Linked DNA regions of Homo sapiens: regions 2, 3, 4, 5, 6 and 7 are each linked to region 1. Evidence: promoter capture Hi-C in 16 types of primary human blood cells and fetal thymus (Javierre and others, 2016). All regions are on one chromosome and are shown on one strand. The core of a region is centred on a gene start or on the middle of the fragment in contact, and the rest is flanking DNA. Distances in the headings are between cores, read along the strand shown. Region 1 holds the start of OAT (ornithine aminotransferase). Region 2 overlaps LOC107984128 (a long non-coding RNA gene). Region 3 overlaps ABRAXAS2 (abraxas 2, BRISC complex subunit). Region 4 overlaps CHST15 (carbohydrate sulfotransferase 15). Region 5 overlaps CHST15 (carbohydrate sulfotransferase 15). Region 6 overlaps CHST15 (carbohydrate sulfotransferase 15). Region 7 overlaps CHST15 (carbohydrate sulfotransferase 15).

Region 1 (3,776 bases), core at 880-3,379:
GAGTAAATTTGTTCTTGCTATTTTGACAAATATTTACTTTTCCTGAGGTAACCATTCACAAATACAGGCCTTTAAAAAAAAAAAAAAAAAAAAGTTCTACCAACAGAAGTCTCTTTGACGTAATCAGTATTCTGGCTAAAATTCAAGCCAAGTGCATCATTGGCAAACAACTAGTTTTACTACTGAGAAAGGACCGGGGTCAACTACAGCACATCCTCCACACACATCCAAATTCGTGCATTCATCACTATTTGTAAATGTTTGAGATTTGAAAGGTCCTCAAGAACTCACTAAAGGGCATAAAATATGCACACAAATAACTGTAATAAAGGCACGCTATGGGGATAATACATATTAAGACAGCTGCTTTGAGGGAAAAATGTCTTTTAAAAATGTTTACTATTTAAAGTTATACTGGATTTTTCTTTGGGGGGGGGATGCAAAACTAATCTTAAACACCATGAAAAACTGTAAACCCAAAACTATAAGCTTTTTTTTTTTTTTTTTTTTTTTTCGAGACGGAGTCTGTCGCCCAGGCTGGAGTGCAGTGGCACGATCTCAACTCACTGCAAGCTCTGCCTCCCGGGTTCAAGCAATTCTCCTGCCTCAGCCTCCCGAGTAGCTGGGATTACAGGCGCGCACCACGATGTCTGGCTAATTTTTGTATTTTTAGTAGAGAAAGGGTTTCACCATGTTGGCCAGGCTAGTCTCAAACTCCTGGCCTCAGGTGATCCGCCTGCCTGGGCCTCCCATAATACTGGGATTACACAGGTGTGAGCCACCGTGCCGGGCTAAAAATAAGCTTTTTAATTTAACGCTCGTTTTTATGAAAAGATTCATCTAAAGACAGAACCAGGATATTCTAATGAAAGGAGTCTATTGTTATTTCACATGGCTAAGAGCGATTGATTACAATCTAAAGAACAGTTCCGGGGTTAACTGAAAGAACTAGCTTATCCACAGAAACCCTTTCAATCCCAGAAGGAGAAATTTAGAATTTGGAAACTGAACATTAGTCATTTCTTAAGGTAAAGCCACTTCATTCCAAAGTCACTGTCTGTTCGCCCTTAATTTATCACCGTAATTTATCTAAGAGGTAAAACTGAACACCGAAAAGGTAAGATGTAGAGTGACAAAAGGAGACGGTGGGTCACAGGGCGAGTGCCCAGGTGACTTCGGGCCTCAGTCCTCTCGCCAGCAAAGGGCGGACAATGACCCCTCCCGTCCCGCCCGGGAAGGCGATCGAGGAAACGCACTGGCCAGGCCCATTTACTGATGCTCAGCAGGGTTTGCAAAAAGCCCCCAACGGGAGGTTTTCATGCTGAAAGTCCTGTTGCCCCCCCATCCCCCACCATCTAATTAACCTGCACGTTACTGTAAGGAAGGTTCTGCTTCCGTAATTTTCTTTATTTCGACAGAGGCTGGAGAAAAAAAATCATAGGCTGGAAGAGGGGAGCGATGGGCAGGCCGATCTGCAGGGCGCAGGAGCAGGCCGGGAGGACCCAGCCCTCCAAGGCTGCATCAGCGCCCCCGCCGCGTGACCAGGGCCACCGGTTTACTGCACAGCTCCCCCGTCCCCAGAACGCAGCCTCCCCGCCAACCCCAGGAACCAAGGGTGCCCAAAGGCCTCCTACCCGGAACCCCGGGGCGCCTCGGGGTCTCTGGGCCGGGTGGGCCGAGTCCTGGCCTCCACAGGCCGCGAGCGCAGGGGGCGGCGGCTCCGCCCGGTCTGGCAGGCGGGGCTGCCACATCCTCAGCCTCTCCCTGCCGCCCGCCCGTCGGCCGCTCTGGGCTGGAACCAGGACTCCGGCCTGCAAGCCGTGGGTCGCCACGCCCCTGCCCCCTGAAGCTGCGCGCCGGCCGGAGACTCCAGGGCGCCCGGGTCCGAGCCGCCCGCAGAGTAAACGGGCCGCTGAAGCGGGGCTCGTTCCCCGGCCGAGGCCCAGCGCGCCCCCTCAGCCAGCATCCCCCGAACCCGGGCCGCGGCCACCCCGCGCCCGCCCGCCTCCCCCGCCGCTGTCAGGGAACCCCGGCCAGGGCCCGAACCAGAGCCCCAGGACAGCGGCGCCCAGACGGTACCTGACAGCGCCTGAGGACAACCGGGTACACGCGGCGTCTATGAAGCGCAACAGTGACGCCGGAGAGTCACTGCAACTTAAAGGCTGATTCTGCCCCGCCCCCAAGACACCCTCGCCGCTCATTGGCTGGGGCGGAGGGCAGGATACCAATCGCGTGGGTCCCGTCCTCCGCCCCGCCCTCCGGCCGCGCATCAAGGATCTTTGCTCCTCCCGCGGATTCGATCCGCGCTCGCGCCTCCTGAGCCCGCCGGCCTGTACCTGAGCTCAGGCCCCTCGGTCGCCTCCTCTGGCGGGACGAGAAGAGTCCTTGTCCGCCCTTGCTGACGAGAAGACTGAGGCCCGAAAAGGAAAAGTCTGTTGGGCCCCCCACTGCGCGGGCCGGGTGTGGCTGGAGGCCGAGAGACGTGAGGCTGGACCGCCCGCCCTGTGCTCCTGGAGGGAGGGACCAGCCCCAGCTCTGCCCCAGCCACAGCTGCGGGAGCCCCATGCCCTTGAACCCTGATGCGCCGCGCGGCTTAGTTGTGCCTCTGAATCCACCTCCAAAAGTCGTCGCTGCCTATGGAAAACACACTGCCCACCTGTTCGCAGCTGCTGTCAGATAATTGAGTGGCAGCAACCCACTCACAGTACAGATTTGCCTGTGGTGCCCTCCACAGCCGGTTATTAAATTCAGAACACAAAATAGATATTCCGGGACAACCTCATGTTAGAATCGGAAGGGACTTGGACTTCACTTAGCCCACAACAAGATGTTAAATATTGGAAAACAGAGACCCAGAGAAGGAAAGCGACTTACCCAGTCATCCAACAGTAGGGGCAGTCTGGTCCTGTGTGCCCCTCGCCACCCCTCTCAGAGGGCAGGCGCTGGCAGCTGCCGGCACCACACTCCATTAGACCACAATGACCAGTCGGGGGCCCAGCTGGAAACAGAGGGCACACTCCAATGTGAACATTTCCTAAAACGTGGTGGTGGGGGCCCGTGGTTCATGCCTGTAATCCCAGCACTTTGGCAGACCGAGGCAGGAGGATTGCTTGATCCCAGGAGTTCCAGACCAGCCTGGGCGACACAGTGAGACCCCGTCTCCACAAAAAAAAATAAAAATTAATCTGGTGTGGTGGCACACCTATGTTCCCAGCTACTCCAAAGGCTGAGGTGGGAGGATCACTTGAGCCCAGGAGGTTGAGGCTGCAGTGACCTATGACTGCACCACTGCACTCCAGCCTGGGCAACAAAGCAAGACCATCTATCTTAATCAACCAATCAATCAATCAATGTAGGCAAGTAAACCACAAGGGATGGAGAAATAACCTGGGTCTCATGCACCAGCGAGGGCCATTATCCATCCTAGGCCCAACGGCCTCCAAGTGGGGTTTCCAGAATTCCAGAACCCAAAGAGAGGAGTGTGGGAAAGGCTATCTGGTCACCAAAGTCATCAGCAACTGCATGGGAAGGAGCTGGACAATGAGCATCTCCTGTCAGGCTTCCACATGGGCTGAAGCCATTAGGAGGCCAGAGGCCAGGGGAGCCCTTTAAGACAGCTCAGCCTCCTGGGACAAACAGCAGGGTGGAAAAGGGTGGAGACGGGGTAGGGGAGCAATTGGAAGACATCCAACATACATAACTGGCTAAGATAAGTCTTAGCTAAGCAGAAAGTAAAGTCCATGCTAAATGGTAGGGATAAGAAAGTGATATGGGTG
Region 2 (3,776 bases), core at 847-3,346, 460 kb before region 1:
TTCTGGATGAGATAAACATTTGAATCAGTAAACTAAGTAGACTGCCCTCCCCAGTGTGAGTGGGCTGCATTCAATCCATTGAAGGCCTGAACAGAACAAATGGCCAAGTAAGGGAGAATTCTCTCTCCTCTGTCTGACTGCCTTCTAGCTGGGAAGTTGGTCTTCTCCCACCTATGGATTTAGACTTGGACTTGGATGGAATGTACACCACTGGATCTCCTCATTTTCAGACCTTCAGACTCAAACTGGAACTATACCATTGGATCTCCTGGGTCTCCACTTTGCCAACTGAAGATCTTAGGATATCTCAACCTCTATAACTACGTGAGCCACTTCCTTATAATAAAGTGTTTATAATAAATGCTTCTTATATAATATATATACATTTAAATATGTGGGTGTGTAACCTATTGGTTCTGTTTCTCTGGAGAACTCAGACTAACACAGGGTCATTTGGATGGGGCTTTCCAATGTTCCAGGAATTGGAGCATTGTCTAGAAGGCAGAGGTGTAGGAGACCAGAAAATGCTACTCCAAAGTATGCCTCTTTGGCTTAAGACTTATTTTGAGCTTATTATTTTGAGAAGCTACAGACACAAAAGATGCTCTGAAAACAAAGTGGCAGCTACCTTTGTGTAAGGGAAATTTATATCTATAAAAGGTGAAATCTCCATCTGTAAGAGTGTCTCCCTCTCTGTACCAGGACTCAAATCACTAAAGACTCTTATCAATGGAGAAGGCGCTGACTCAGATCTGCAAATACAAACATTACTCTTTGTTTACTGTGCTTTTTCTTCCCATAACCAGCCTTCCCCATGCCCTTGTTTCTTAGTTTCCATAGACAATAGTTTTTAAGCCTGAATTCCAAGCCACCTCTTTGAGATTCATTCATTTTTCTGAGTACCTCCCATCTATGCATGAGGGTATACTTGTTATTAAACTTCTGTTTTTCTCTTGTTAATCTGTCTTTTGTTACAGGGGTCTGTCCCAACTAAAAACTATGAAAAGTAGAGAGAAATTATTTTCCTCCCCTACACAGGCATGAGCTCCAAGTTGGCATGTCAACTTGGCTTTTGGACTCTAACCCTAGGAAAAGGGCAAGACCAGAGAAAGCTCAGACGGAGTGTGACACAGAAGTGTCAGAGGGGGCCAGCTCTTGTTGTCTAGGAGACTTTCTGATCTCACTCATGTCTGGAACAAAGGAGAGAAGAGTCTTCCCCATCCCAAGCCTAGCTCAAAGAAATAAACATTCACAAAAATTTCGTAGCTTCCAATCTTATAGCATCATCCAAATCCCTCCCAATTTGTACCCACCTCCCATCAACATAATAACCCACCTCTTCCAGGGAACAGAGCCAAGGAGGTTTACCTTTTAAGGGCTTTGTCTTCTGTTACGATCTGCCATGGTCTACAGCATAACCAGTTAAATCTTGATCTCTTTCTGTCCAGCTTCTTCTGTCTTCCTGACGCCTAGTGTCCATATGTCAAAATATATTGATATATATTTTAGAAATGGAGACAATCAGCCATTAAAACAGTAGTTCCCAGCCTTTAGGGTTTCAGAAACCAATACTTTTAATTTTAATTCACAGGCCATGATTCCATTAAAGAAAGCCAGCTGAACACAAAAATATAGGAACAGCATCATCTCTGTGTAAAGGATACTCCAAATTAAATAAGCTTGGCTTTATAAAAAAAAAAAACTCACTATATTTTCTTTACTTTTCACATTTAGTCTTAGACCAGGGAAACTTGATTCTTTTCTCATTTTTTCCACAAAGACCAATATTTGGAAATTACTTCTTTAAAGCTCATAACGGGAAAAATTTTAAAGCCGTTATGTTAACACGGAAGTACGCCAGTGTCCAGATTCCTGGGATGGGCAGGGAGTACAGAGAGAAGAAGACGTCTGCCCTCCAGCAGGGCTTACTCCAATTCTATTCTTTTTCCATGGCTCAGGCTGGACCTTGACATTGACAGGCGCAGCTCCTAAATCTTCCTTTGTTTTCAAATTCATTTCTCCCAGGTCGTCTGGACTGTAAGCTCCTCTACAGTGACAAGTATTTTGCTTCATTTTTGTTTCTTCTTCTCATCTCCAAAGCCAGGACTAGGGTGAGCTTATCTCTCACCGTTCCCCCAACAAAAGCCCTCTCTCCAGGTGCTGCCTCTGCTGCCCTCACCTGTGCTGTGCCCATCCAGCCTCCCCGTACTTGCTCATGCCCTCTCCCCCAGAAATGCCCTCTGCCTTCCCAGATGCTGTGGAGCCCAGCCCAGGGCCCCTCTCCAGGAAGCCCACCGGAACCTCCCTGTCTTCTGAGTGCCTGTGACCCTCTTAGCAACACTGGGTTCTCAGCAACCTCCAACCTCCAGGCGTTCTCAAATCTATCACAGGTGTGTCCACTGGACTGGAGCTCCACCTGCATCACACACTGTCATGGATGTGTCAGGAGTTGGCATCTTACCATCCTCTGCCCCAGGAGCAGTATGGGGGCTTTTTGCTAAAAGCCAGTACACTGAAGCTTCAGCCTAGATTGTAGCCCAGCGTTCTGCTCACAGTTGGGGGAACCAGACGGGGGCTGCCCGGCTGTCCTGCCTTACCCTGCGGGGAGAGCGCTTGGTTATTTCCATCCAAGCCCCTCCCTGGTGCGTTTGTTCTGCAAACTCTCTGGTCACACTCCAAGCCACTGCCTTTGCTGCACTGTCTGTAAACATGACAGTCTCGGGGCTATATTAAGATTTTATGAGTCTGTAAAACAGATTAAGAGATTCAGTGTGAAATTCTCCTTTTTAAAAGCTCTTCTTTCCCTTCAGATCCCATCAGCTGCACCAGCCCTGGCCCCATTGGCTTCCCATCCTGCCTGGGGACTGCTCTGAGATTTCAAAGTTAAAGTAAATGCTGCTTTTTCAAAACATATGGGCACCAGCTTCCCTCCCTTCTCATCCAGTGTTACTATTCGACTAGGTGATGGATCCCATTTTTCTTGACACTTAGGCATTGAAGGGGCTTTCTAAATGGTGTCTTTCCCTTCTCTAAACAAGCATGGCTCAAAATATAAGCTACTCAAGTGAGAATGTGAGAGGATGAACAATTGGCCTGGTTTTCCTGGGACTTTCAGCACTAGAAGTCCCATGTCCAGAAACCCCACGGCGCTGGGCAAAGTGGGAGAGTTGTTTGCCCTAGCATGAAGGCTTCTTGCAGAATCACCAAATGTTAGAACCAGGGGAATTGTCTGAACACTGGGAGAGAAGACTTTCAAATGATTTAGAGCCTCAGACCACTGTTTCAAATGAAAACTTATCTGAGAAGCAATAAGCAAACAGACGCGACAGGAAATCCTCTGGTGGACAGAGGTGGGGAGCCTGCAGGGAGAGTAAGGCTCTGACCTGGAACACTGGGCTTCTCTGATGTCATCCAACAATCACCCAACCCCCAAGAAGACAGGGGGCTCCCACTCACCTCAAATCAAAGCCCTGGGAGGAGCTTTGCAGTGACTTTGGTTAATGATATCAGATTAAAAACTGCAGCCCCAAGGGGAAGTATGACTTTAGGGGCCAAACTAGACCTCCTCTTCCTTAATTTCCAAAAGAGACAGCTAGACATGCCCTCTGGCAGCACCTCCTTCCTCCCCACATACATTTGCTTTCTAATTTTGGAAAATAATCTCATGAACCCCAAACCCAATCTTAGAGACACTGCCACATAAAACCCCCACACGCATGCATGCATGCACCCACAGTCGCCTCCCTGGGGGCCTTGCACACCCTGACTGAGAGGGC
Region 3 (3,776 bases), core at 771-3,270, 410 kb after region 1:
GCCAAGATCGCGCCACTGCTCTCCAGCCTGGGCCACAGAGCAAGACTCCATCTCAAAAACCAAAAAAAAAAAAAAACAAAACAAAGGCAGCTAGGAAAAAAAATGAAATAAAATAGTTCGAATTGGCATAACTGAAAAGCACTATTAGTCATCCAATAGCCACCTTGCAAGATTCTGCTAGTCAATGAGTATTTCATGAAAACAGCCAGTGTGCTGAGCACTGTTCAGGTCTTTGCAGGAAGGCAGGGGAAGTGCAGGGCATGCCTGAGGTCTGCTGAGTAGGTAATTCCAACATTCCAAGTAGGAGTTGGGTACAGAGTATTGAATCTTAGAATGAAATGTGCTATGTTCACCTGCATCAATAGCTCTATCTAATTGTATCCAAGTTTTCTTGAAAGGAAAACTACTTTTACCTTTTTTATGGCCACCATCATGTCTAGTGTAGAATGTGAAAGTTAGTGTTGCCCAGTGGAAACAGGCAGGCATCTTGATTCCACATCTTGGCTGTCACTCATGAGCTCTGTAACTTCGGACAAAACATCTCTTCTATCAGATTATATACTGAGGCCAGGCACAGTGGCTCAATGCCTGTAATCCCAGCACTTTAGGAGGCTGAGGCGGGTGGATCACTTGAGGTCAGGAGTTCAAGACCCACCTAGCCAACATGGTGAAACCTCATCTCTACTAAAAATAAATTAGCCAGGCGCGGTGGCACATGCCTGTAATACCAGCTGCTCGGGAGGCTGAAGCAGGGGAATCGCTTGAACCCAGGAGGTGGAGGTTGCTGTGAGCCGAGATCATGCCACTGCACTCTAGCCTGAGTGACAAAGCAAGACTCTGTCTCAAAAAAAAAAAAAAAAAAAAAATTATACCCTGAGAGAAAGGCTTGGGTTTTCTTTTTATTTAAGGGATATCAGAATTAATTGCTTTAATCTATGGGAAGATATGTTTTATGTTCAGTAGTACTCCTTAAGTCAGGAACTATTGCTTATTTCTTTGTTCTCTGTAGTTCTTTGCATATGATATGAACTCAATGGAGAAAACATTATTCACTTAGAGTGGTGTAGTAATTAGTGAAAATATTTGTGACAATGCTAGCCTCAGCAAAAGTTGGCTTACTTTCTACATGAAAATGTCAAAACAATCTCAATTTACTATTAATTTTAATTTTAATATGACACTATTAGATTTAAACTACCTTTGCTTCTTAAAACAAGATTTTAACTCAGAGTTGGTTTCAAAGAAGGAAGCTGTATGAAGATTGATCTTCTAATAAAGAATTAAATGTTTTGAAAACAGATGTTTTTAAATTTCAGTATGCAAAAGAAAAATTCAGAAACTTACTTAAATTCAGATTCCTGGCTCTATCTTGAGAGGTTCTGATTCTGCAGATTTGGGTGGGGTCCAGGAATCTGCACTTTAGGGATGGGGTCCAGGAATCTGCACTTTAGCAGTCTTTCAGATATCTCTGAAGTCATCTGTCTTCCTGATGACCAACAAATCACATTATGAGAAGTATTCTTCCAGAGTGCATAACAGTTTCATTAGCCAGTTTAGTTATGCTATAGTTAGAGCTGAAAAAGCTAAACTTTTAAAATAGATTTGTTGAGGTAAAATTGACATATAACACATATCTCAAATGTATGCTCTTAGAAGTTTGATGTATGTGTAAACTTGTGAAACCATCACCATATTAAGATAACGAGCATCTCCTTCACCTACAAAAGCTTCCTCGTGCCTTTCCAGTCCTGCCTTCTCCCCTCATTCCTGTTAACCACTGATCTTCTTTATGTCACTAGATTAGTTTTCATTTTCTAGAATTTTGTACAAATAGAATCCTATAACCTATACTTCTTTTAGTGAGGAGGTGTCTAGCTTCTTTCACTCAGGATAGTTATTTTAGGACTCATTCATGTTCCTTTTTATCACTAAGTAGGATTCCAGCATATGCCTGAAGCACAGTCTGTTTATCCATGCTCCTGCTCATGGACGCTTGGGTTGTTCCAGGGTGGGGCTTTTGCACATAAAGCTACTATGAACATTTGTGCATGTGTGTTTGTATGGATACATTCAGAATTAAATTTGTAAGATTTCATGCAACTTTTCACACTTTTCTTTCAGAAAGTCATTGGGTGGTACAGATTCCGGCGCAATACGCAGCAGCAGATGTCCTACAGAGAGCAGGTTCTTCACAAGCAGCTCACCCGCATCCTCGGCGTGCCCGACCTCGTCTTTCTTCTCTTCAGCTTCATCTCCACTGCCAACAATTCCACTCACGCTTTAGAATATGTGCTCTTCAGACCAAATAGAAGGTAAAGCTTGCTTTTCCATCTGCCTCACATATAAGAAGGACGTTGGGACCAGGCGTGGTGGCTTACGCCTGTAATCCCAGCACTTTGGAAGGCTGAGGCGGATGGATCATGAGGTCAAGAGATTGAGACCATCCTGGCCAACATGGTGAAATTCAAAAATTAGCTGGGTGTGGTGGCACGTGGCTGTATTCCCAGCTACTCGGGAGGCTGAGGCAGAAGAATCGCTTGAACCTGGAGGCAGAGGTTGCAGTGAGCCAAGATTGTGCCACTGCACTCCTGCCTGGCAACAGAGCAAGAATCCATCTCAAAAAAAAAAAAAAAGGATGTTGGTACAAGTCACTGAGATTCGTGACTTCAAAAATGTGCATTATAGTGCATTTTTTTTTTTTTTTGAGACAGAGTCCAGCTCTGTCACTCAGGTTGGAGTGCAGTGGTGCAATCTCGGCTCACTGCAACCTCTGCTTCCCAGGTTCAAGCGATTCTCTTGCCTCAGCCTCTCGAGTAGCTGGGATTACAGGCACACACCACCATGCTGGCTAATTTTTTTGTATTTTTAGTAGAGACGGGGTTTTGCCCATTTTGGCCAGGCTGGTTTTGAACTCCTGACCTCAGGTGATCCACCTGCCTCGGCCTCCCAAAACTTTATGCATCTTTAAATAAAAACTTGTATTATTCCCTTTAGCTCTTTTTGTGGTTACGGAAGGTATTTTTCTTGTCAGTTATTTACATAAAATTGTTTTTGGATCAAGAAGCATTAACAAGACATGTTTATTATGCATAAATTCTTATAAGGAATAAATAGCTGGAAATCATCATTTGCTTCTCCATAATCCACTATGTGGAAATGTAGTTTTATTGCTGTGGAAGTCTGATTATAATTTTGAAACATAAATTTCAAATACAAAATTGTGAAATTGAACCACCTGCTGGTTAACGAGGGTTTTGCATCGTGAACTTGTTAAACCAAAAAAAAAAAAAAACCACCCCTATGATTATATGATCATGTTGTCTGTTTGTAAACAGCAAAATGGTTTCCCTCTGGAAGTTTATTTGTTGTAGAATAAATTAAATTGACATCAGTGAAAATAATTGTTAATTGTTAAAAAGGTTTTTATAAGATTTCATTATGTAATCTGTGGGTATCTCTTGAGCACTTACAGGCTCAGCATTGTGTCAGTCACTGTGAGTATACAAAAGATGTGTAAGGCATGACCTGTGCTCTCAAGGAGTTGATAAGCAAGGTTTTACTTTACAGAAGGGAAAACATCACTAATTCATGTATCCTTGGGTTGTCTGTAGAAGGAGGTGCTCCGTGAGACCTTCCTGTTGGTTTACCAACGTCAGCAACTAAGACTCCTACCACCAAGCCCCATTCTTGCTTTAGTTAATTACTTTTATTTATTTTAATTTTATTATTACTATTATTTTGGAGACAGGGTCTTACCCTGTGACCAGGCTGGAGTA
Region 4 (3,776 bases), core at 347-2,846, 410 kb before region 1:
GCCATTGAATACAGACAGTCTGTGCAACACGGCGAGACCCCATCTCTAGGGGGAAAAAAAGGGAACGTGAAGTGTAAGTTCCAGCCAGGCCTGTGGCATGACCTCTGGCTTGCTGACTCAGAACCCAGAGGCTCTCCAGAAGGCGGAGGCGGGCAGGGCCAGGCTGCCTTCCCTAGGTGTTCTCTCCACACCCAGTGCAGGCCAGCTGGCTGCATCCCCAAGCTCCAGGACGCTCAGAGCAGAGCTGAATTCTTGAGAAACTGGGGTCTCCAATGGCCTCGGATAGAGGAGCTCTGTGAGGGGTCCATTGCTGAGCTCTCGAACATCACGAAGGAAATTCCAAAATGGTTATAATTCATGTGTGCCTAGAGTGGCAGAGTCCTGGGGTTTTCCATACCATGAGTGAAACAGTTCCCCGCAAAGAGATTTGTAAAATCCTGATGATGACGGCATTGGCGGGCCCAGCACGTGCAGCAACAATTCAGCTCTCACGTCGTCTTCCACGCAAACGCCTCATCCGCGAGGACCTGCGCCAGCCTAGCGTTGAAGGGCCTGTAGAAATCCCGCAGAATCTTCTGTGTGATGGGCCACATGGGCCCCAGGTTCCGGTCCTCGGGACGCCGTGCATTGGATGCGGGGCTCTTGGTCATCAAAGCCTCCTGCTTCTCACTTAAGGGCCCTAGAATAAAAGAAGACGAGTCCCGTAAGGCAGGAGGCATGGCAGGAAGTAAAAGGGACTTTGCAAAAATCCCAGCTATGCTTCGTATTCAGACAGGAGTTTCCTTTAAGAGAACATATTTAGGGATTAAAATTCTTTGGCTGGATCCATTTTGGAAGCACTGAGGGAGGAAGGTGGAAACACCATCAGGAAATTGCGAAGAAATTCTGCGGCGGGTGCAGGATGCCCACCCTCGGGGGAGCCCAGCTGGCATTTAATGATGATACAGCGTCTAAGGCTGACCTCAAGGATTCCCTTCCAATTGCCCTTGGTGGGCTGCTCTCCATGGGTGTCAGCCCGTCCTTGGAGGAACGTGCGGCCTGCCGAGCACAGCCCACGGGTTTCGGTTTTCCTGCTCAGCAGCCCTCTGGAATTCCGCCATCATCGTTTCTACTTCAGGCTGCTCATGCCAAGGTCCCTGGGCCTGCACAGTTTCACCCTGTGCGTCTTGCTGTGAAGTGGCCATAGGGAGGAGGGCTGGGAGGAGGCCACTTGTGCCCAGAGCCCCCACTGGCTGAACCTCCATCTGCAGCAAGGAGATCAGGGAGAAGAGGCCTGCCGGCAAGGGCTGTCAGTCACCCCCACGCCCCGCCCTCTGGAGTGAGGCGAGGCCCTGGAACAGGCTGGCAGAGGTTGTCAGTCACCGCCACGCCCCGCCCTCTGGAGTGAGGAGAGGCCCTGGAAAAGGCCGGGAGGGGCTGTCAGTCACGCACACGCCCCGCCCTCTGGAGTGAGAGGCCCTGAAACAGAACAGCAAGGGCTGCGACCCCAACGCCCCGCCCTCTGGGCCACAGCTTCTTGGTGTAACCCATCACTGCTCAAGCCTCTTTACCGGGGGCTCTTGGGATCTGGCCAAAGTCCTTAGCCCATAGACAGAAAAAGCATGTCCCAGCATCCTAGGGCCATATGAAACACAGAATTGGCCTTACTATCCATCTTGGGGACAAAAGACAAGCTCATTAATGGGACAGAGTCAACATGTGGTCAAATCAAAGAAAGATGATTCTAAGCCTTGGAAGGGAAAGAACTCATCAAACTCCAAAAAAAGGAGAAACAAAATCAAATGATCAAAGAGGCCCAAGTCCCAGTGGCAGGCAGATATATTTTCAGAAATACTCAATTAACCAAGTTCCCGGGCAAGACCATTAGTCAGGGCTGCAGGAGGCGTTCTGGGAAGGAGGGCGGCTTGTTCGAGCCTGCTCAGCCTTTCAAGCCATCCCTCGGTGCCCCGTCCACATGGGCAGCACTCGCTCCGCCAGCACATGCCTCTGCCAGCCATCACCATAGTCAGCAGTGTGGCCTGTCACCACAAAGTGACTCTCAGGCCCCTGGGGGGGCTGGTATCCACAGGCTGAGGGCAGGCGCTCATGCCCCAGGGGCCCAGCATCCATGATCAGCAGCCAAAACTCAGCCACACGGCTCTGACTCCTGGAATTTCCAAGAATACCGGAGATGATGCAATGATCTGTCTGTTCCCTCCTCTAAGCCCCAAGTCCTCTGCTCCAGCCCCCCGGTGACATCCTGTTGGTCCTACAAAGCTCAGCTCTCAGGCCCTTTCCTTCCATGAAGCCTTCCTCATCCGTGCAGTAGCTGGGATCCCAAACCATCAGCACATACCTTACATGACAGTGCTGACCTTCCCCACGGCATCCTACCTGTCATTCAGTTAGGTGAGCTATGGCTTCCTCCTCTCCCTTCACTAGACCATAAGCTCCCAGAAGGGAAACCATCTCCTTCTCTCCAGAGAATCCCTCACCATACTGTGCACAATGACCTATGTACAGCTAGTGCTCAATAAATGGTACTTAACAGGCCTCCTGAAGGACATCCCCAGGCCTCCCAGCTCAGCCCATTCCCACCCAGCTGACCAGGTCTGCATTTGCCCCAGAGGACTCCCAGAACAAGTCCACGGAGCTCATGCTTTGGCCCGTCAGTCTAAGCACCACACTCATACCTAGGTTCAGAAACTGGAAGACCTTGTGCATGGTGTACTTGACGTTGGATGCATGATCTTCCAGGCGAAGAATGAGAAACTGTTGCTTGTCAAAAACGCTGAGCCAGTCCAGAAGGTACACAGCATAGAGCCCAACCTGGAGCCTCACCTAGGACCACAGAAGAAGGGCATTATTTCAGGAGCAGTTGCCCCAACACCATAGGGCACTTTTCCAAAGTGGTATGGCATTTCACTGTACCACAAAAGAGTTATCCTAGCAAAGTTACTTTCAGAAGCTGGATTTTAACACAAGGTGTTCTTGCTTCTTTATGGGGGGTTTTGTGCTACATGTGCAAAGAATTCCTATATTAGGGGTTGCATTTCATCCTCACAACACCCTGTGGGTAGCGCCATGCCTCCATTTCACAGGTAAGGACTGAAGTGCAGGGAAGAGGTCAAGGTTGTGGCCACCAATGGTGTACATGTTCCTCGCACAATATCCTGGCTGTTTCTCTGTTCCCAGTGTGACCTCTATGCCCAGCACACAACGGGATGTGAAAAATCAACCACAGACACCCCAAAGACAACCTACATGAGTGAAGAGCCAAATGCCTGATGCCAGAGGAACATCCTTGACTGTGAGGGTGTGTGTAATTCAGCATCTAATCATTACTGAACCAAGTACACAGGAGGATGTTTCTATTTAAGTCCTTTCTACTTTCCAGTACCCATTTCCCGGGTCTTCACCCTTCTGTTCCTTCTCTCGTGCCTTACTGCAAGCCGTGTGGTGAAGATTTAACTCTACTCAGAGAGAACTCGGGCCTTTCCCTCGGCTCCTGGGGGTGATGTCTGGGCCCCTGGATGTCCTGCCTGACAGAAGTGTCTTGGTTGGCCTGAGGGCTTTGGTCATAGGCAGGCTAACACTGAGATTGATGATGGGGCCTTGGGCCACATGGTATCAGTTCTGACTCTGGTAGGACTGGAGACTAAAGGTCAGCCACAGCATCTGCATGTGACGGAACCCTAGTAAAAGGCCTGGACCCCCAAGGCTTGGCCTGGCAATACTCCACGAGGATTGCCACATACCATGGCCAGTGGCACTAACACCGTCCATGACTCCACAGG
Region 5 (3,776 bases), core at 476-2,975, 390 kb before region 1:
CCCTCACTGCAGGGCAATGGCCACTGCACACCGGGGCGGGGCCAGTATGTGACATGTGCTGCCACCCCCTCCTTCAACAGCGTCAACCTCACTAAGCAGCCCAGAACTCCGGGTGAGACAGGTCCCTGAACTGTGGCTGCCCCAGGGTCGTTTCTAAGTGCCCTCCCTGATCCCAGCCCAGCGGGCACACATCTCACCTTAGGATCTCTGCAGATACAGACACAACGGAGCTCTTTTTCCCTATAGTGTTCCTCCTGCTCGGAACCGTCCTTTCCAAACAATCATGTGGGAATACACAGGACTGCCAAGGACTTCACAAACATTTCCCCAAAACATAAACAGTGTTCAGCACTTGGGAGTTTTCAGCTTGGTGGTTTTTCTCCCACCAATAACAAGATGTGGCGCCTCACCAGGCAGTCCCTCCTGAACAGTCTTCAGAGAACCCCTTCACAAAGACCCGAGCTGTCCTTCTGGCCTGGGCGCTGCCAGCTCTCCCTCCCCGCTCTGTGATCGAGGCCAACCCCCTTGACCTCAGGTGGCTCAACAGCTCAGTCCTATTAAAGTGACCTCGTGCCGCTTCCAGGGCCCATATCAAGGTGTGTCAACAGGCAGCTTCTGGGAAGCAAAATGCCTGAACCCACCAGGAATCAATAGGCAGCTTCAATAAAGACACCGCACTACAGTAGTCCTCACAAGGACCCTTGTAATTCTTAATCTTCCAAAATCTTAGAGGAAAGGAAAGAGTGAGAGCTGGAGGGAGAGGTGAGAAAGAGAAATCGATCCGTGGCTATTGCTGCAACCTCTACATCCCCACGGCTTTCTCCTCATTCCGTCTCTTCTCCACAGAGGCGTTCTCCTAATTTCCCTTTGAGATGGTTTAAATCAATAATGAATCCCTCAGTGCTAGGAACAGCCTGCGTTTTAATCCTTGTGCAAATCTGTTCTAGAGAAAACATCGCATGACATTCCCAGTGCCAGGCTCTCTTCTGATTGAGAACACATCCAGGGCTTTCAATCAGTGCTTCTAGGGGCTGGGGGAAGTTGAGCTGTTTGGAGAGGGGCTTCCGGTGCTGCCTGAATAGCAAGAGAGATTCTCAAGTCAAAGTTCCGCTGCGGTTCGAAGGCATGAATCCGGCTCAGCTCCCTTCTGTGTGTGCTGGCTTTTGCCCTAGGGCGGGCATCCTGCTCCCTCTGATGTGGAAGTAGGTGAATGAGGTGCATCCAGGCTTAGGCATCCACAAATACCGGGTCCTTCCTATTTACAGAGCTTTGCAAAACTGGGGAGCCATCCTGCTAATAACTCACAGCCCAGTCCCTCCTGGGAACGAGCCTCAGCTGAAGAGACCACCAGCAGCAACCAAGGTTAAGCCTCCACAGGTGGTCCTGTCCAATGATGGGTGGATGGGAGAAGCCTCACCCAGAGATAGCTCTGAGGGGCTGCCCCAGCTCAGTCATTTACATGAAGCCTGGCCCTACTCCCTCAACTAGACAGAGGCTCCATGAGAGCAAACGGGATGGATTTTCCTCTCCTATGTACAGCTTGCATCTAGCACATCAAGGGTGTTCAATAAATACAGCCAGGCGTCACTTAACAGCAGGGATATATATGTTCTGAGAAATGCATCAGTAGGTGATGTCATTATGTGAATGTCATAGAGTGTTCACAGAAACCCAGATGGCACAGCCCCCTACACACCTAGGTGGCGAGGTACAGCCTACTGCTCCTATGCTGTCAGCCTGTACCGCAGGAATCCTGTGAGCAGTTGTAACATAAGAGTTAGAATTTATGTATTGAAGCATAGAAAAGGCACAATGAAAACACGGGATTATAACTTTACGGGGCCACCATCATATATGGGGTCCACTGTTGACCAAAACTTGGTTATGTGGTTTGCAACTCTGGGGAGTGAGTAAATGAGTGATCAGTTTATTGTTATTATTAGTAATAACTGATACCTAATAATAATAATAGTTACATATTTTCCATTTGTCAAGCACTGTTTAAACACGTTACTACAAATATTAAGTCATTTAACTCTCACTACCCTGGAGGTAGGACTATCTTCCCCCATTTTACCGATGAGAAAATAAGGCACAGAGAGGTTAAGTTTCTTGTCCCAGTTTACAGAGCAGTAAGTGACAGGGCTGGGGTTCCAATGCCTGTGTTCCTGCCACCATGACCCCGGTACACCTCCCAGACACTCAGCGGGTGAAAGCTGTGCACCACCCTGAGGCCCCCTCACACACTCTGCAGACAGAGTGAAACTGATGAAACCAGGATTCCTGCCCAAATGTTCAGCCCTGCTATTCCTCTGTGTCCCCATGAGTGACTGCCTATAACAGAATCCATTTCATTAAAAGCCTGCTTCCTTTCCTAGTTTATCGTCATAACTGAATCATTTGACCAGTCCAACGGGTTGTTTAAAAAATCAGTTTATATAAGCAGATGAAGAAAAGAACTAGCCAGGTTCCAAGACTCCAGGGGTTTGGGTCAAAATCGAGTTTGAATTCTTCGCCAAGCTGAGTTCTCCTTCCCTTTGGACTCATCATCACAGAATGGGAAAATGAACCATTCCTGTGGTGGGTTGTTTCTGGGCATTGCATTAAGACTACACACAGAATCAAACCCCAAACATAGACACGGTAAAATCCTTAACAGATGGTACATGACCCCACTCCAAATGTCCCTTGAATAAAGGAGGAATGCAACTAGGTTGGAGGTGCCAGCACCTTCCACGCATTTTTCACATTTAACGGGGGCTATAACTGCCTCTGAATTAAGAGACAAACACTATCAACTGTCTCACAAATGAAGAGGCAGGAGGCTAATGTGAGATGCATTTGAAAAGAATAGTCTTTACCACTTACGAATGGGATTAAATAAAGAAAAATTCTGCTTGCAATTGGTGGCTTCTTTTTAATTAACTGGGCCAATTTAGCATAGGAATGCATCAAGCTAGTTTTAAATTGTCATGATCTCTTACAGAGAGGAAACTGGAACATGAATTCTTGGCTGGCTTCTTTGGCCATATGAACCATCCCATCCACTTGTTTCCATTATTCCTCTGTTCTCCTCCAGAAAAAAAAAAAAAAAATGGACTTGCCACTTGACTCCTTCTCTGGAAATTTAAAAGTGATTTGACTTTGCTTAAAATTCCAACATTTTCAAACCCTCTACTTTGGATCAATTAGGCTGAATGTGAACCTAAAACTAAAAATAAAAGTGGTATTTCCCCTCTCCAAGCCAATTTATAGAAGGAAAAGAACAACTTGGACCAATCCAACTTGCAGCCAGCAACCCCCAAAATCTCCTGCTTCCAGAAGTGCAAGGTCACAGAACAGGGCTAATGGCCCAGGATCCCGTTAGACTGATGGAACTTGGGCTCAGAGTGTTTGTTTCTTCAAGAGTGACCTAAACACACAGTATTTATCATCCTTTCTGGCTGAGATGGGAAACGCGCCAACCATTTCAGACAGGCCATGGGTCATGGGCTTCGAAAAAGAAGAAATTCCTATTGTTACTTATTTTTATAAATGTTTAAGAAGAAATGAAACAGCTGCTATGTCAGTAACTTACACAGAAAATATGCACATAAACACACTTCCTCTGCCACTAGAGCTGGGATCAAGCTGGAAGCTACTCTCCCGGCTGCAAAGCCCAGGCCCCAGTTTCCTGAGGATCAGGTGCAGAACGGGAGGTGGCTGACTCCTAGGACGGTCCTCAGTGATCCCCGGTTCTTGGTATTCACACCCTGTAGTGTCTTCCCACTGAGTGT
Region 6 (3,776 bases), core at 453-2,952, 370 kb before region 1:
CCCAAACGAATGGGCAAAACATTCCTAAACAAGGGCAGGGGCAGCTCATTTCAAGCAAAGTAAAAACATGAGCAGCCGACAGTCTCAACAGAGAGGAGGGAAGATGGGGTGCCCGGACCGGGTCCACAGAGCATGTCTGCGGGGCAGCTGCCCCCACCAACCAGCCCGGCCTCTGCGAGTCCCGCTTCCTAAACAGAAAGACCTGAGGAGGCAATTCGAGATGCTGCAAGAGCCTTAGCAAAACACTCAGATACAGTGTTTTCTCAGCTCCTAGCATTCTTTCATTCATTCATTCATTTGTTCAACAAATACCTTTTGAAGAACAGCTGAGTGTTGCGCATGTCCAGGTAGGGGGAGACCAAAAGCCAATACAAGATGAGGGATGTGATGTGGAAATAAGAGATGAGTATTTGGTCTCTATCCTCGGGTACTGGTACACAGGTGCTAAAATCCTTGGAATTTTTCTGAATGATGGGGTGAGAGAAGCACCTTTCGTCATTCATGACAAGCCCCTTTCAGCCATACCTGAGTGTATCCTGATGCGGTGACACTTTGCGGGCCAGGATAGCTCCAGGATGGAGGCTGGTCACCAGAAAGACCAAGCCTCAGTGAGCAGCTTTCAACAAACCCCCCAAACTCCGGGTAGGGAATAAGGGCTGCAGATTAAGTCAATCACCAGTGGCTGATGATTTAACCAATCAGGCCTTTGTAATGGAACCGCCATCAAAACCCTTAAACCACAGGGCTCAGGCAGCTTCCAGGTTGGTGGATCCTTCGAGGTGCTGGGAGGGTGGAGTGGAGGAAGAGGGCATGGAAGCTCCACACACCCTCCTCCACCATACCTCGCCCCATGCGTCTCATCTGCTGGCTGTTTCTGCATTCTATGCTATAATAGACTGATGATGAGTCAAGCACTCTCCTGAGTTCTGTGAGTCATTCTAGTGAATTACTGAACCTGAGGAGGTTGTGGGACACTCTTGCCTTTTTAGCCAATTTGGACAGATGTGCGGGTAACCTGGGGACCCAATACTTGGGACTGGCATCTGAAGTGGGGCAGTCTGGTGAGACCGAGCCCTCAAACCGGTAGAGTCTGAGGCTGCCTCTGGTAGGGGCAGACTTGAATTGAATGGTAAGATAATCAGTTAGGTTCTGGAGTTGGAGGATTTGCTGGTGTTGGAAAATACCCCTGGGCTGCGGTGGGCGTGGGGGTGGGGGCCTCTCTGAGAAAAAAACATAAAACTGTCTTACATTTACAAGTTTTTACCAAAATCGATAGCCACTGTATAGTATGTCAAATACTCAGTAAGATGGACAAGCAATCTGAAGACCAGGTGAGTCCCTTGTAAGTGAAGGCCCTAGAGCCCGGCGGCTTCCAGACAAGACCTCCCCTGACGGGCGCGAGTGGTGCAGGGCTGACCCAGAGAGGAGGCCTGTTCCCAAGTGGAGCTTCTGTCCCACCAGGGGTAGGGGCTGCAGGGCACAAGCTATAAAGAAGTCCCAAATGAATAAGATAATCACAGATGCTGCTAGATAAAGGCTATGCAGAAAAGAATAAAGAAAAGGGGGAGAGAGCAATACAACCATTGGAACAGGGTTTTGGAATTCTTTGTGCCGTCCTAGGGCTGGCCCATGCTTTGTTGTCAGGGCTGTCCCGCGCACAGTAGGATGCTTAGCAGCACCCTGGCCCCCACCCACTGGATGCCATAGCACCCCTTCCCCTGACATGTCACAACCAAAAATGTCTCCAGGCATTGTCAGTGCCCCCTGGGGTGCATAATCACCCCTGGGTTGGAGCTACTGCCTTAAAGAAGTGGGAGGTATGATACACAGGGTGACAGGGAAGACCTGATTTCAGAGGGGACGTTGGAGGAGAAACCTGAACAAGAAGGAAGCCAGTCACGTGGAGACCAGGGGAAGCAAAGGCCCCGTAGAGAGACGCTGTGGGGAGTCCCAGCCCATGAGGGCTACTGGCAGGGTAGGCCCTGGGGCACAGGCTGGTGGGGGTGGAAACCTGATGGGAGAGGAGGCAGGGACCAGGCTCTGTAGAGTCTTGAAGGCCAAAGTCAGGGGTGGGATTTGCTCGAGTGCAAGAAGGAAGGCATACTACATATTCTTTTTTTTGTTTTGAGATGGAATCTCACTCTGTGGCCCAGGCTGGAGTGTAGCAGCACGATCTTGGCTCACTGCAACCTCCGCCTCCTGGGTTCAAGCGATTCTCCTGTCTCAGCCTCCCGAGTACTGAGATTACAGGCATGCATCACTGCGCCCGGCTAATTTTTGCATTTTTAATAGAGACGGAGTTTCACCATGTTGGCCAGGCTAGTCTCGAACTCTTGGCCTCAAGTGATCCAGCCCGCCTTGGCCTCCCAAAGTGCTGGGATTACAGGCATGAGGCACCACGCCTGGCCTCAAAAGAATTTTTACTATGTATAGTAAATATACATAGTAAAATATGTATAGAATAGTTTACTATGTATAACTATTAAAGAACATAACTCAGGGAAGAAAAATCCAATTAATGGGGTGGTATTGAAAGGAAAATGGATTGCTGTTACGTTCTGTATCTGGCCTTTTCCGTAGGCCACAAATTATCCCAAGAACAGTCATTCAGAAACCTAACACTCAAGTGGTTCTTCCTTCAGAAAGGAGTCATGTATGCCCCCTGCACTTCACCTGTCTGGAATGTCCACATTTGGTGCCGGTCGACTCAGACAAGACGGGGCCCTTGGCACTTCCGTTCATGTATTAAACCAAAGGATTCAGGTATACATTTCAGTGAGATTGCTTCCCACCTGGGCTCAATTCTGAGCCTGATGGCTGCAGACCATCACTGTGGGAACCTGGCACCAGGAGAGAAATCAGATAACGGGTCCCAAAATAGAAAGTGTTCAATTACCCAGCCCTTGCTTGGACACCCCCTATTAACCTATGCACCCAAGCATCATTAGCAAGCCATTTATAACAAAATTGTAATTGAGAGACCCAGAAATACCACTTTAGATTAAGTAATTGAATGCCCCCTCAGTGTAAGATCGATAAAGGGCATCCAATTTCACCCTAGGAAAAACTTATTAAATTATTGTAGCTATAAGCTGATATAGCAGAAGAAAGATGTATGAAACTTCAGAAGAAATCTGGATGGATTTAAACAAATAGCTTCATTTAGGTAGAACATTTACATTTGCCCTCTGGGGACAGAGAGGGAAAAAAATAGCTAATTACATTATTTTTCTTTTATGTTTTAAGGAAAAAAAATTCAATGGGTCTTAATTAACCTTTACTAAAACACAAAGCCTTCTTCTGATTAGTATGTGTAACTGCTGACATTCCTCTCTAGGCTATATATATGGAAATATATTTTTTCAAGGACTATTCATCAACAAGTAGGAGAAGGAACATTTTTCACATGTAGCTCTAAGATAGAAGGTTGTTGCTGAGACTGAGAAGAAAGCCAACAAGACTGAAGAGTTCTGTACAAATTATAAATCATCAGATTCAGTCTTCTATCTGGACTTCGACAGTTTTGATCACATCCCAGTCAATAAGCAGAATAAAGCCACACCACTCCGTCAACATTCACTGGCCCATAGCACAGCGGAGAGGACACAGCAGTCACATGGATTAGGATTCCAAGTCCATGTCCACCCAGCGGCCTTGGACAAATCACTTAAGGTTTCTGGGCCTCTGTATTTTTCAAAAGAAGTCCCCGCTAGCAACAGATCACGTACAGCACTGGAGTTAAGAGCCCGAGTGCTGGAGCCAGGTTGCCCAGGTTT
Region 7 (3,776 bases), core at 853-3,352, 350 kb before region 1:
CCACTCGGGAGCAGAGTGGCAGTTACCAGGACATGGGTTATCTAGACAGCTGGAGTTCTCATCCTGGCTCCACGGCCTGACACTTAGCCCACCTCAGTTCCTTATCTGAAAAATGGGGATGATGTGACAATATGTAGTCTAATGGAGCCACAGGGAAGACTGAGATAATCCATGGGAAGCACCAAGCAAGGACAGGGCACCTGGGAAGTTCAGGAATCGTTGGCAGTGCTCCTCATCATGGTAACCATCACTGTCACTGTTATTCCTGTTTCCACCTGCTCTTTGGCTTTTTAGCTGATGGGCCGGGTACATGTCCAGTCTGGTCTGTGTCACACACTTCCACATTTTATTCCAGCGTCTCCTAGAGGGCTGGCTTGCTGAAATGCATCCGAAATGAATTACTTTGCTGTCTGTTGCAATAACTAGTCCTTCATATTCAAATCCAGAAAAAGATCAAAACACATATATTTTAATGTCTTCTAAGTCCGTTGTGAAAAGCATCACTATGCTCTTATTAAAAATTCTGCTTTCATCACCTGCCTTAATATCCCTGTTCTTGAATTAAAAAAAGAAGTCAGAAAGACAGAGGAAAATAGTGATTTTTAAAGTAAGACCTTATCTTGTGAATAACTGTAAAATGTTCTATTTTAATAAGAAACACAAATTTTCAAACAATAAAAAGGGGATCATTTTTACTTTAGAATGTTCCACCTTATGGTATTTTGGGCCCTAAGTATACAAAGAAAGCATACAAGGAGATAATCGAAGCTAGAAAGTATCAGAACATGCTTTAGCATGTCTCTGTCTGGGCTAAGCTGGGGTCAGATGTGAATCAGACAGGACTAGGCAGGATGAGAATGGCCTCTCAGGTGAAAAGGACAGTCCCTTGTCTCTGCACAGACATCCATCGGCTTAGCATCCCTCCCCAGAGGCCTCTCCCAAGGAGGCAGGTCTGTGCTGCTAGGCAAAGTTGCAAACTCCCACAGATCAACATCCCGTTTGAGTTCCTACATCCTGTAGTCCTCCTGAATATAGAGAGGATGGGTTCAACTGACTTCTGCAGGCTCAGCTCTAGTACAAATCAGTGCCATACAGATAATAAATATAGCCAGGAAATTCAAGAGTCTTGCAAAGTTCAAGTTAGTCCCTGTTGTTTGGGGGACCCCCCCCCCAACTATTGGTGATATGGCACAGATGGAAATGGGGCAGAGGCACCATGAACAGAGTAACATTGCAAGAATCATCGGGGCCAGGCTCGGGGAATTTGGGACGGGGAGTCCAGGGTCTCTGGCAAGTCTCTGAGTCATCAAGATGAGTGAGCCTCAAAGGCAACACAGGGGAGAACCATGAACAAGCAGTGACACGTGCAGGGCCCGTGGCCTGGGGAAGGCTGAACAGGGATGGACAGTTTACGGTTTCACAGTTTTAAAAATTTGAGTCACTGACTTTAAACAGGTGAGGCAGAGCAGGGGACCCAGAAAACAGGAACAGTGCTCCTCCATGAGCCCCTGCCATAGGACACCTGGGCAGAGGCCAGCCTGAGCCTGGACCTTCCCAGTCAGCCAGCTCATCCCTCGAGGAAGGACGCAGATTTTTCTCTCATTGCCTGCCTTTAACAGTTCTGCGCTCCAGGCCTGACCAAACCAGATTTATCCATTAGGTTCCATGACATGTGGAATATACTGAGGGCAAAGAAGTCACCCCAAGATGGGAGTTCCCCTGAATCTAAGGTGTCACTGTGCCTCCCTTTAGCTGTAGGACTTTGGACAAGTGGTCCCGCCCATTTCCTGGGGACATGCAGAAAATGGTGATGTCCCCCCCAGCACGTTGTCAGGAACAAATGATATAGCCTGGCTGTGTGAGTGCTTTGTAGAGAGCACACAAAGGACAGGATTTTTCTTTGCAATGGAAAGTAGTTGCTGTGTTGTCCAAGAAACAGTTTCTGGAAAAAAAAGAAAAATCTGCACTTACAGATCTAGAGTAAAAACACAATGTAGGTCTGAGGTTCCTAGCCAATCCCAAGCCAGAGGCCCCTCTGGGAATCTCTCCCAAGGGAAATGCATATGCCCACCTACGGGGATGTCACTTCAGGAAGGTCAACATGAAGGCCATATTTGACCATCAGATTTAAGGGGCATCCTCCAAATGAACCCATTCAGTAAAGTTTTTTTGTTTTGTTTTGTTTTTGTTTTGACACTGAGTCTCGCTCTGTCACCAGGCTGGAGTGCAGTGGCTCGATCTCGGCTCACTGCAACCTCTGCCTCCCAGGTTCAAGAGATTCTTCTGCCTCAGCCTCCTGAGTGGCTGGGACTAAAGGTGCACACCACCATGCTCAGCTGATTTTTTTTTTAAATAGAAACGGGGTTTCACCACGTTGGCCAGGATGGTCTTGATCTCTTGACCTCGTGATCTGTCTGGCCGGGGCCTCCTAAAGTGCTGGGATTCAGGAGTGAGCCATTGTGCCCGGCCCTCAATAAAGATTATTAAAGCCCTACTCTATGTCAGGCTCAAGTGTAGAGCCCTGGGATGCAGCAGTAAACAAAACAAGTCCCTGTTCAGCTGCATCTCGCAGGCTGGTGGGGAGGCTTCCAGAATCCAATGAAGAAGAGGGCAGATGACCTCAGACGGGCTGAGCACCATGGATGAGAACCCGCCGACCCACTACCAGGCTCACCTGCGAGTCCCTGCCTGCCACAGACTCCGTAGGCTGCCCTTCACGGCACTGTCTATGGGGTCTCTTCCAGAAACAGCGGGGCAAAGGCAGGAGGCAGAAATAAAACCTAATTTGCTTTCTGGGCCACATTCCTGTAGCTTAGTATTTGGCGGTGCTCTCTACCCCACTGGGGTAAAGAATTCAATTTGATTTGATTTGATCTGATTCTAACTTAAAGGCAGAGTTCTCACCCTGACCAGCAGCAGGCCATGTCCCACTTGTGTGAGATGCAGTGCAGCCCAGGGTGAGACGTGCTCAGCTCTCTCTTCCTAGCCCAGAGCGTTAGAGAAGATTCTCGTTTTCTAAAGGCACTACCTGGAGGGAACGGGCAGTTTCCCTCTTTGGGCAAAGTACCCAAGGAGATGGACAGGCCAGCCAGAGCCCAACAGACCCATCACAGGTGGCCTTGTGGCCATCTATAGGGCCAGGTGTGCCATCAGCCTGAAACCCTGCTCCCACGTGAGCCAAACAAGGGGCCACAGCTGGGGCTTCTCTCCTCTCCTCCAACTCCCTAGCACTCTGAGTCAAATTCCAGCAAGAAAGTGCCTCAGAGCAGCACTGCCCAACAAAAACAGAGTGTGAGCCCATACCTAGGTTAAATGTTCCAGGTGAGGTTAATTTTCATGTAGTTCAACTCGAATAGACGCAAAATAACCACTTCAACATGTAGTCAGTATAAAAGTTATTAATTAAAAATTTGCATTTTTTTCATACTAAGTCTTCAAATTCCAGTGTGTATTTTACACTTAGGTCCATCTCAATTTGGATGCTACATTTTCATCTGAAGTACCTGAGCTGTATCTAGATTTCATAAGACTTAGAGTCGGAAAAGGAGTTATGGACCCAAGCTGTTCCAAACATTCTTAAAAGTTTTCTAATAACTGAATTAAGTATCTGCTTTTAAATTTAAATTAGTTAAAAGTAAATGAGATGTAAAATTTCCATTCTTCGGCCGTCCTAGTCACATTTCAAGCATGACCCTGTGGAGCAGCAGACACAGAGCTTGTCCAGCTCCTCAGAGAGCTTCCTGCACGAGGCTGCTCAGGCCAGGCGCTCCTGGAGC

What was found. Contacts are between HindIII fragments. The CHiCAGO score rates a contact against its expected background, and 5 or more counts as called.
Region 2: a fragment that was not itself captured here is called in contact with the fragment with the promoter of OAT in region 1 in 1 of 17 cell types (monocytes); the score reaches 8.3 in monocytes.
Region 3: a fragment that was not itself captured here is called in contact with the fragment with the promoter of OAT in region 1 in 1 of 17 cell types (activated CD4 T cells); the score reaches 5.2 in activated CD4 T cells.
Region 4: a contact is called between a fragment that was not itself captured here and the fragment with the promoter of OAT in region 1, in 7 of 17 cell types (monocytes, neutrophils, M1 macrophages and 4 more). The highest score is 13.5, in monocytes.
Region 5: a contact is called between a fragment that was not itself captured here and the fragment with the promoter of OAT in region 1, in 3 of 17 cell types (monocytes, total B cells and naive B cells). The highest score is 11.8, in monocytes.
Region 6: a fragment that was not itself captured here is called in contact with the fragment with the promoter of OAT in region 1 in 1 of 17 cell types (monocytes); the score reaches 5.4 in monocytes.
Region 7: a fragment that was not itself captured here is called in contact with the fragment with the promoter of OAT in region 1 in 1 of 17 cell types (monocytes); the score reaches 5.4 in monocytes.

Annotation. Positions count from the first base shown.
Region 1 is chr10:124,416,794-124,420,569 of GRCh38, forward strand. OAT (ornithine aminotransferase) reads right to left here and starts at 2,130. Exons shown (of 10, transcript NM_000274.4): 1 at 2,080-2,130. RefSeq lists silencers at 1,690-2,229, 2,172-2,831 and an enhancer at 2,805-3,319. The HindIII fragment of the contact is 6,386 bases long and covers 801-3,776 here.
Region 2 is chr10:123,960,598-123,964,373 of GRCh38, forward strand. It overlaps LOC107984128 (a long non-coding RNA gene), which reads right to left. Exons shown (of 3, transcript XR_001747628.2): 2 at 1,369-1,469. Among named protein-coding and RNA genes, the nearest start is that of CPXM2, 71 kb to the left of the region's middle. RefSeq lists an enhancer at 3,291-3,460. The HindIII fragment of the contact is 839 bases long and covers 1,678-2,516 here.
Region 3 is chr10:124,824,474-124,828,249 of GRCh38, forward strand. It overlaps ABRAXAS2 (abraxas 2, BRISC complex subunit), which reads left to right. Exons shown (of 9, transcript NM_032182.4): 5 at 2,122-2,312. Among named protein-coding and RNA genes, the nearest start is that of ABRAXAS2, 25 kb to the left of the region's middle. The HindIII fragment of the contact is 591 bases long and covers 1,726-2,316 here.
Region 4 is chr10:124,009,661-124,013,436 of GRCh38, forward strand. It overlaps CHST15 (carbohydrate sulfotransferase 15), which reads right to left. Exons shown (of 8, transcript NM_001270764.2): 7 at 2,673-2,820; 8 at 1-679. The coding sequence ends at 489. Among named protein-coding and RNA genes, the nearest start is that of CHST15, 82 kb to the right of the region's middle. The HindIII fragment of the contact is 4,917 bases long and covers 1-3,776 here.
Region 5 is chr10:124,029,733-124,033,508 of GRCh38, forward strand. The region is part of intron 5 of CHST15 (carbohydrate sulfotransferase 15); the gene reads right to left. Among named protein-coding and RNA genes, the nearest start is that of CHST15, 62 kb to the right of the region's middle. The HindIII fragment of the contact is 5,558 bases long and covers 1-3,776 here.
Region 6 is chr10:124,048,836-124,052,611 of GRCh38, forward strand. All of the region lies in intron 1 of CHST15 (carbohydrate sulfotransferase 15), which reads right to left. Among named protein-coding and RNA genes, the nearest start is that of CHST15, 43 kb to the right of the region's middle. RefSeq lists enhancers at 1-125, 126-626, 1,668-2,168. The HindIII fragment of the contact is 7,591 bases long and covers 1-3,776 here.
Region 7 is chr10:124,068,206-124,071,981 of GRCh38, forward strand. All of the region lies in intron 1 of CHST15 (carbohydrate sulfotransferase 15), which reads right to left. Among named protein-coding and RNA genes, the nearest start is that of CHST15, 24 kb to the right of the region's middle. The HindIII fragment of the contact is 5,512 bases long and covers 1-3,776 here.